Regions from separate parts of the Homo sapiens genome. Here region 1 is linked to region 2. The links are contacts of gene promoters, found by promoter capture Hi-C in human tissues and cell types (Jung and others, 2019). All regions are on one chromosome and are shown on one strand. Each heading gives the region's core, a stretch centred on a gene start or on the middle of the fragment in contact. The rest is flanking DNA. Distances are from core to core; before and after follow the strand shown.

Region 1 (3,974 bases), core at 1,221-3,720, 610 kb before region 2:
TTCAGAGCAGTTGCCTGACCTGTGCCAAGTAGGTGCCAATGTGCTTGCCAGTGGCAGCATGTTAGTGTACTTGTATGTTTGTTAGTGTCCCCAAGGCATGGGGATGCCTCTGGCTAAAGCTTTGATGTTAAGAGAACTCTGCAATTCTCATGAATCCCAAGGCTCAATGGGCCTGTGGCTGGAGGAGAGGAAGCTATATCCCCCAACCCGGCCCCAGTCTGTGAACTGTCCCCCAGTATTCTGTAAAGCCTCCCACATGCCTCACCTGGCTGGCAGCAGCCTCAGCTGCAGGGCCTAGGTCTGGGTGGTGCTCAGAGTGACCTGCCCTGGGGGGCCTCTCCACAGGAGAGTTCCGCCGGCGGTAGAAGAGTACATAGGCATAACGCGTCACAACCTGGCTCTCGTCTACCGTTGTCACTGTGCTGTCATCAAACAAGCGCCAGCCTACAGCAGGGTGGGAAGAGTGTGAACAAAGTCTGCACCACCACCCCTACCACCTATCCTGCTGGCTGTGTGTGCCCTCACCCACGTCACTGCGCTGACTGCTACGATCATTGGGCAGGCGTGCACAGGCAGTGTAGTGGCCACCAATCATGCCTCCATAGTGGTTGATGACAGCATATAGATCGTAGCTGGGCAGCTGCTCCTCTTTCTGACCAATGCAGAACTTGCTCAGGTCCAGGTTCCTGCAGGTCAGGTCCAGTCAGGGAGGGGTGAGACAGGCAACAGGCGCTCAGGATGCCCATCCTGGTCCTCACACCCCACCCACAGTTACCAAGGTCCACTGCTTACCTAACAGGGAACTCCACCAAGTCATTGATCTTGTCACGCCAGATAAAACTACGAAAGGAGAAGCGCTTGAGCTGCACGATGAGAACATTTGGCAGGCGCCATAGCAACAGCTGCTTGGAGGCCTCACGGTGCTGTTTGCACTGTGGGCAGTACCTGGTGGGGACAGAGATTGGGTCAGGACCAGCAAGTCTCTCTCTTCTCCATCCTGCCCCCTTATCTACTTGCTGCTCTGTTCTCACCAGGCCTCCTCGGGTGCCAGCACCTCAGGCCGTGTGAAGAGGTTGAGGCACTGGTCCAGGGTGAAGTGGCCGGCCCGGGCAGCCTCACCGGCAGAGCCTGGATCCTCAGCACATTCCAGCTCCTTGGAGGCTACCAACACAAACTCCTGCAAGCGCTCATTGTTCCGCCAGACGAGAGCCAGGCTACAGTCGTCACCCAGCTCCAGTGGGGTGTCTCCTGGAGATTCGCAGGGAGAGAGGTCATGCAGCTGTGGAGAACAGCCAGCTCAACCCACCCCATGGCTCCCACCCACAGCCTCAGACACCTTTGTCCTCTAGCCGCTGCTCTCGGTTGGATGAATCAATTTTATAGATGAAGAACTGGGGTGTGTGGGCATTCATAGCTTCACTTGGATGCTGGTACCCAGGCACAGCAGCTGTGTGAGAACATGATAATCAAAGCTTCCCTGCCCATCAGGGCCTCACCAGGCCCACCAGGCCCTAAACAACAGCCCCCTCCATCCTCCCTTATCCTCCTCCCCAGCTTCTAGAGCCTTTCACTGGATCTTACCTTCGGGTCGGGACACCCTCTCGCCAGCTGGCAAGGAGCCAACCTCAATGGGCCCACTGGCCAGCATCTCAGAAGAAATTCCACTGGTGCTGGGCACAGGACCCCGGTCAGGGGCTGCCCACACCCGGGGAAGCCCTGTGTCCCCCTCAGCCATAGGGGTCACCAGCTGGAGCTCAGGTGGCTGAATGGGGTCTCTCTCGCTGTCCCCAGCCTCCAGGGAACCTGTGGAGAGCAGTGTGGTGCAGCCAGGGCTCTGAGACTCCAAGGCCATGCGGCCTGGCTGAAAGGGTGGCTGGAATACACTCACAGAGTACCTGGCAACAGAGAACAACGCAAGTAAGACTCCTGACCAGCCCATCTAGCACCTCTGCCCCCACCTACACCACTCTAGTCCAACCACTGGGCACTTACCGGGCATAGCCCTCTAGCAACTGAGCGAGGCGGGCATAAGTGAGGCGTGAGGCAGGTACACTGACCAGGAAGGGGTAGCCAATGTTCTCAGGTCGGCAGAGGCCCTTGTGGTCAGGCCAGTGGGTTTTCTGGCAGAGCCTGACGGGAAGAGGAAGACAAGGATAGGCCCTTAGCCCCATCTCCTATGACTCCATACTGGGGGCTAGTCATAGTCCCTGGGAACTGGGTACGCCAGCCCTGCCTCCCCCAGAGCCTGGTAAAGTAGGGTGGCAAGTAGAAAGCTTAAGCATATGTGCCTTGGTGTGAAGGGAAGGAGCAGGGTGGCACATGGAAGGTGGAAAGAAAGGGTAGGGGAGACCATGGGGGTCCTCACTGGTTGCAGTAGCCCACACGGTAGCACCGGGTACAGCGCTTCAGCTTTTCATCCTCCGACTGTTGCTTCCGCTGGCAGGCTGCACACTTGGAGATGGGGACGCTGGGCACCTGGGGGCGCTAGGGTGGGTCGTCTGGCTCAGCAAGACCAGGAAGAAGTGCCCCACCCACCAGGGCGCTGTGCCATCAGGTTGGCCCCCACTCACCTGTTGCACCTCTAGCACCACTACCCGCTCCTTAGCCAACTCTGAGGATAGCAGCTCAAAGCAGAGGAGCGTATCAGATGGGGACACAGTGTCCAGTGAGTGGGAGGGTAGGAACACACGATGAAAACGATTCTTAATTACCTGGGGACAGAGAACACACAGATCCCACGTGAGGATAAGCCCTTTCCCTAGCCCTGCCCCAGAGTTTAAGAAGGCTTGGCCCTGCCTTGGGTCTATGTGGGCAGTGGTGAGGTCTGTAGGCCCAAATAGGCTTATGCCTCTGCTGGCACCTGTCTCAGTGCCCAATGCCATAAGGAGCCTGGTGCATCAGAGGGCCTGAAAGACCAGGTGTGAGGCAGATATCAACCACACCAGCTCTCCACACTGAGGGACTCTGCCCTGCTATAACTAGCATAGCCTTATAAGACTGTAACATATTATCATGGAGGGTCCACATTCAAAGAGCCTCCTCCCCACTCTTACCCCTAAGAAAACCAACACTGTCAGGCTAAAGGCTAGGAACCCCTGGGGAGAGCTAGCACACACAACTGGGATAAAAGGAGAGAGCAGCAGGATAGAGGGAGAGGCAGAGCGAACATAGGGATAGTCCTGCAGCTCAAGCTCCTTGTCTAAAAAGGGAAATGCAGTTGGGATCCACCACCACAAAGGGGAATAAACCCTGATAATGGCTAGGAACTGAGGGCACTTCTGTTGCACAGAAAAAATAACAGCACATCGCCTGTTTTTGTACAGTCACAGGCATACTCATGTGTATGTCTATTTTTATTTTATTTTATTTTATTTTTGAGACAGAGTCTCACTCTGTCACCCAGGCTGGAGTGCAGTGGCGCGATCTCGGCTCACTGCAACCTCTGCCTCCCAGGTTCAAGCGATTCTCCTGCCTCAGCCTCCTGAGCAGCTGGGACTACAGACATGTGCCACCACGCCCGGCTAACTTTTCCTGTATTTTTAGTAGAGGTGGGGTTTCACCATGTAAGCCAGGGTGGTCTGGATCTCCTGACCTTGTGATCCATCAGCCTTGGCCTCCCAAAGAGCTGGGATTACAGGCATGAGCCACCACGCCTGGCCCTATTTTTATTTTTTTATCTATTTATTTATTTATTTTTGAGACAGAGTCTCACTCTGTCACCCAGGCTGGAGTGCTGTGGTGCAATCTCTGCTCACTGCAACCTCCACATCCCGGGCTCAAGTGAGCCTCTTGCCTCAGCCTCCCAAGTAGCTGGGACTATAACACGTACCACCATGCCCAGCTAATTTTATTTCTTGTAGAGACAGTGTTTCACCAAGTTGCCCAGGCTGGTCCCAAACTCCTGGGCTCAAGTGATCTGCCCACCTCGGCCTCACAAAGTGCTGGGACTACAGGCATGAGCCACTGTGCCCAGC
Region 2 (3,712 bases), core at 475-2,974:
CATGGGACCCTCGGAGCCTATGGAGCTGGCGGACTCAGAGCCAGCCTTCAGCTGCAGGCCTCCAGGGTTGTAGAGATCGAATTCCTCAGCTACTGCCAGCTGCACGCGGCCATTGAGGCCCCTCCGGCCTGGCTCCAGAAAGACTACGTGCTTGTGGACGCTGGCCTTGCGGCTGGGTGCGTCTGGCGGTGTGGTGCTGAGTACTGAGGACTGTGCGCTCAGCTCTTGGAGCGGGCTGGGTGTTTGGGGCCAGCGGCGGCAGCGGCAGGCACGGCGGCAGCAGCGGCAGGGTGGGGCGAACAGGTAGAGCAGCACGAGCACAAGGCCCACGGCACAGCCCAGCAGTGTGGTGAAGCCTGTGTTGAAAGCCTCGGGCTCTGGGCGCGGAAAGTGCACGCTCACGTTGTACTCGTGCGTCTGGTTGTGGTGCAGGCGGGGCCCAGTGGCCAGGCACACGAAGAGTCCCGCATGCTGCTCCTGTACGTTGCCTATGGCCAAGCTGCCGTCGGCCAGCACCGCGATGCTGCCATCGCGGGATCCTGGCGCCCTGAGAAGCTCCTGCTGCGGCGAAACCCAGGCAATGCGCATGGCCGGGACGCTGGTGTTGCAGTAAAGCCTCAGGGACCGACCCACCAGCGCGTACAGGTGCTCTTCCGGCCGCTCTAGGCCAAGAGCTGGGGCCGACGAGCAGTTCTCAAAGACGCGGCTGTGCTGGAAGAAGCGCACGCGGGACGCGGGTACCTTGAAGGCCAAGCATACGTACTCGCGCGCAAAGTCGCGCACGGCGCTCAGGCCCCGCTGGTGCCAGCGCTGTAGCAGGTGGTAGAGGCGGCAGTCGCAAGGCAAAGGGTTGTTGTGCAAGTAGAGGCCGTTCTTGAGGAAGGCCGGCAGCGCGGCCAGCTCAGGTACGGAGATGTGTCCCAGCCGGTTGGAGGAGAGGTCCAGAGTAAGCAGGTGGGTGGCGCTCAGACCGTGCAGGTGGTCGAAGGAGAACGAGGCGAGTTCGTTGCAGCCCAGGTAGAGATGGCTGAGCGCGCGCAGGCCGTGGAAGGCATGCTCGTCCAAGTGCACCAAGCGGTTATTGAACAGAAGCAGCTTCTCCAGCGCCCCCAGCCCGTCGAGGTCGTGGCGGCCAAGCGCCCGCAACGTGTTAGATGATAGATCGAGCAGCCTCAGGCCGCTGGCGTTGACGAAGACGCCGCGACCCAGCGCATCTAGTTCGTTGTGGTCTAGGTGCAGGGCGCGCAGCTGGAAGAGGGGCGCCAACCAGCCGGGGCGCAGGCGCTGGAGCGCGTTGTGGCTCAGGTCGAGGTCCGCAGTAGCGGCAGGTAACTCGGCTGGCACGTCCTGCAGCCCTAGGCCAGTGCAGCTTAGCAGGTCGGCAGCGCAGATACATTTGTAGGGGCAGTTGTGGAGCGCACGGGGCGGGAAACCCTCGGAGTCCGGGGTGCCTAACCCAACGCGCAGCATGCAGAGCAGTGTCCCCAGCAGCACCAACCAGGTCATGGCGGCGACCACCAGGGACAGTACAGAGCAGCTCTGTGCAGGTTGCAGTTCCAGGACTCACCCTCTTCTGCTCTAGTGCGACATGGGTGGCACCGGATGGCCCTTGCCGAGGAGGCACGGCGGGTTCTTGCCAGCCGACGGCCCCTACTCTCCGGTTCCCAGGTTGTGAGGCGGTGCGGCACTCTTAGCCGCGCTCCCTTCGGCTTCGCTAGCCCTCTCCAAGCGAGTTCCTGATCGGCTCCTAAATACTCCCCCCAGGGGCGGGGCCCGGGCTCCTATTGGTTCCCGTTTGAGGAGGCGGGGCGGCTACATCCCTTTGTGCCCAATGGCCCCGCATGACCGCCAGATGGGGAGCAAGGCCAACCCCAAAGTCCCCGTCAGCCTTTGGCTGGCAGCTCTCCGCCGCTCGTTTTTCCTCGGGGAGTAAAAGGGGGAGTCTGGAAGAATGTCTCCAAGCTGCTGTTAGTGTTTATTTGAAGTGACTTTGAAGGACTGATAATATTATGGGGCAGGCAGACTCTCACTATCTTAAGGTGGTTCGCCTGAGCCTTCTTAAAGTGGTACCCCAGGCCGGGCGCGGTGGCTCACGCCTGTAATCCCAGCACTTTGGGAAGCCAAGGCAGGTGGATCACCTGAGGTCAGGAATTCGAGACCAGCCTGGCCAACCTGGTGAAACCCTGTCTCTACTAAAAATACAACAATTAGCCGGGCGTGGTGGTGGGCGTCTGCAATTCCAGCTACTCGGGAGGCTAAAGCAGGAGAATCACTTGAACCCGGGAGGTGGAGGTTGCAGTGAGCCGAGATCGTGCCATCGCACTCCAGCCTGGGCAACAGAGCGAGACTCGTCTCAAGAAAAAAAAAAAAAAAACAGGCTGTGTGGCACCTTACTAGAATACAGGACTTGGGGTTTGGGAAGCAGGGAGACGGAAAGGATGCAGGGGGGGTGATCATGTACGAGCCATGGCACTCCTCATTGGCAATCCCAAGAGAGACTTTTAGCCAGGCCCCAAGCCTTCTGACTGCCCTTGCACCCTCCCCTACCTAGGAGAGAGCAAGCCACATCAGTGCTCCTGGCAGATCCCTGCTTCCAGCTACGCTCAATATGCTATCTCCTGGGACAGCCAGAGCCCCCAGCACCTGGCACTGCTCTGCCAGCCCCTGACCGGAAGCGCTTCTCCCTGCAGAGCTGTGAGTGGGCTGGTGGGGCAGGTCAGGGAAATCTGGGGCTGGGTCGGGTCAGGAGCCTTAAGAACAGCAAAGTCCTAGGCTGGGAATATTCAAGAGGCATCACATCCTCAGCTACCTCTGACTTGACACTACCTACCACTCCCCAGATGCGGATTATATCAGTGCCGATGAGCTGGCCCAAGTGGAACAGATGCTGGCGCACCTGACCTCTGCATCTGCCCAGGCAGCAGCTGCCTCCCTGGTGAGTGGGAACACGGTGCACAGGTCCATGCCACTTGAATATGTGTGCACTCCTACACAGGCACAACGGACATCCACATAGCCAGGCATCCAACTCCAGCCCACCCTTCACTCTCCTCCCTGCAGCCCACCAGTGAGGAGGACCTCTGCCCCATCTGCTATGCCCACCCCATCTCTGCTGTGTTCCAGCCCTGTGGCCACAAGTCCTGCAAGTAAGTGGGCCCCACAGCTTGGTGGTGGGGAGAGCAGTAGGTACATGCAGGGCAGTCCTCATCCCCTCCCCTGTTGTAGAGCCTGTATCAACCAGCACCTGATGAACAACAAGGACTGCTTCTTCTGCAAAACCACCATCGTGTCTGTAGAGGACTGGGAGAAGGGAGCCAATACGAGTACTACCTCCTCAGCTGCCTAGCCCTCACAGCCTGTGCCATCCTGGAACCTCCACCTTTGAACCCAGAGCCAGGCTGGGCCCTATTTATGAGCTCCCTTTGCCCTTCTCCTGTATCCCACACCACCACATCCAACCTCCTTGCCTGCCTGTATCCTCATTGGTGGGAGCCCAGCCATGGCCCTAATTGTGCCTGAGCTTGACTTTCAGTCAGGGCCACAGTGAGCATTAAATTATTATTCCATACAGCCCTGGCCCTGGCCCTTCTTGAGGGAGTGGGGTTTGTGGGGTGTGCCCAGCAGGGATCCTGCCAGATGATGTCCACATGAGAAGGCAGGTGTCCAACAGCTTCAGCTTCACCCAGTGCCCCCCAGACAAATAATGACAAGT

The links. Contacts are between HindIII fragments. The study calls those that stand out against the background at their distance.
Region 1: a contact is called between a fragment that was not itself captured here and the fragment with the promoter of AMIGO3 in region 2, in 1 of the 25 tissues and cell types used here (dorsolateral prefrontal cortex).

The regions. Positions count from the first base shown.
Region 1 is chr3:49,109,919-49,113,892 of GRCh38, forward strand. It overlaps USP19 (ubiquitin specific peptidase 19), which reads right to left. Exons shown (of 27, transcript NM_001199161.2): 18 at 2,571-2,711; 19 at 2,366-2,484; 20 at 1,993-2,130; 21 at 1,582-1,895; 22 at 1,337-1,447; 23 at 1,032-1,248; 24 at 793-945; 25 at 526-686; 26 at 266-444. Among named protein-coding and RNA genes, the nearest start is that of QARS1, 7.1 kb to the left of the region's middle. The HindIII fragment of the contact is 5,151 bases long and covers 1-3,974 here.
Region 2 is chr3:49,717,960-49,721,671 of GRCh38, forward strand. It overlaps AMIGO3 (adhesion molecule with Ig like domain 3), which reads right to left and starts at 1,725. Exons shown (of 1, transcript NM_198722.3): 1 at 1-1,725. The coding sequence starts at 1,506. RNF123 (ring finger protein 123) reads left to right here. Exons shown (of 39, transcript NM_022064.5): 36 at 2,552-2,694; 37 at 2,841-2,935; 38 at 3,061-3,146; 39 at 3,226-3,570. The coding sequence ends at 3,346. GMPPB (GDP-mannose pyrophosphorylase B) reads right to left here. Exons shown (of 9, transcript NM_021971.4): 9 at 1,957-3,712. RefSeq lists enhancers at 691-1,498, 980-1,089, 1,860-2,089 and a silencer at 3,084-3,261. The HindIII fragment of the contact is 19,440 bases long and covers 1-3,712 here.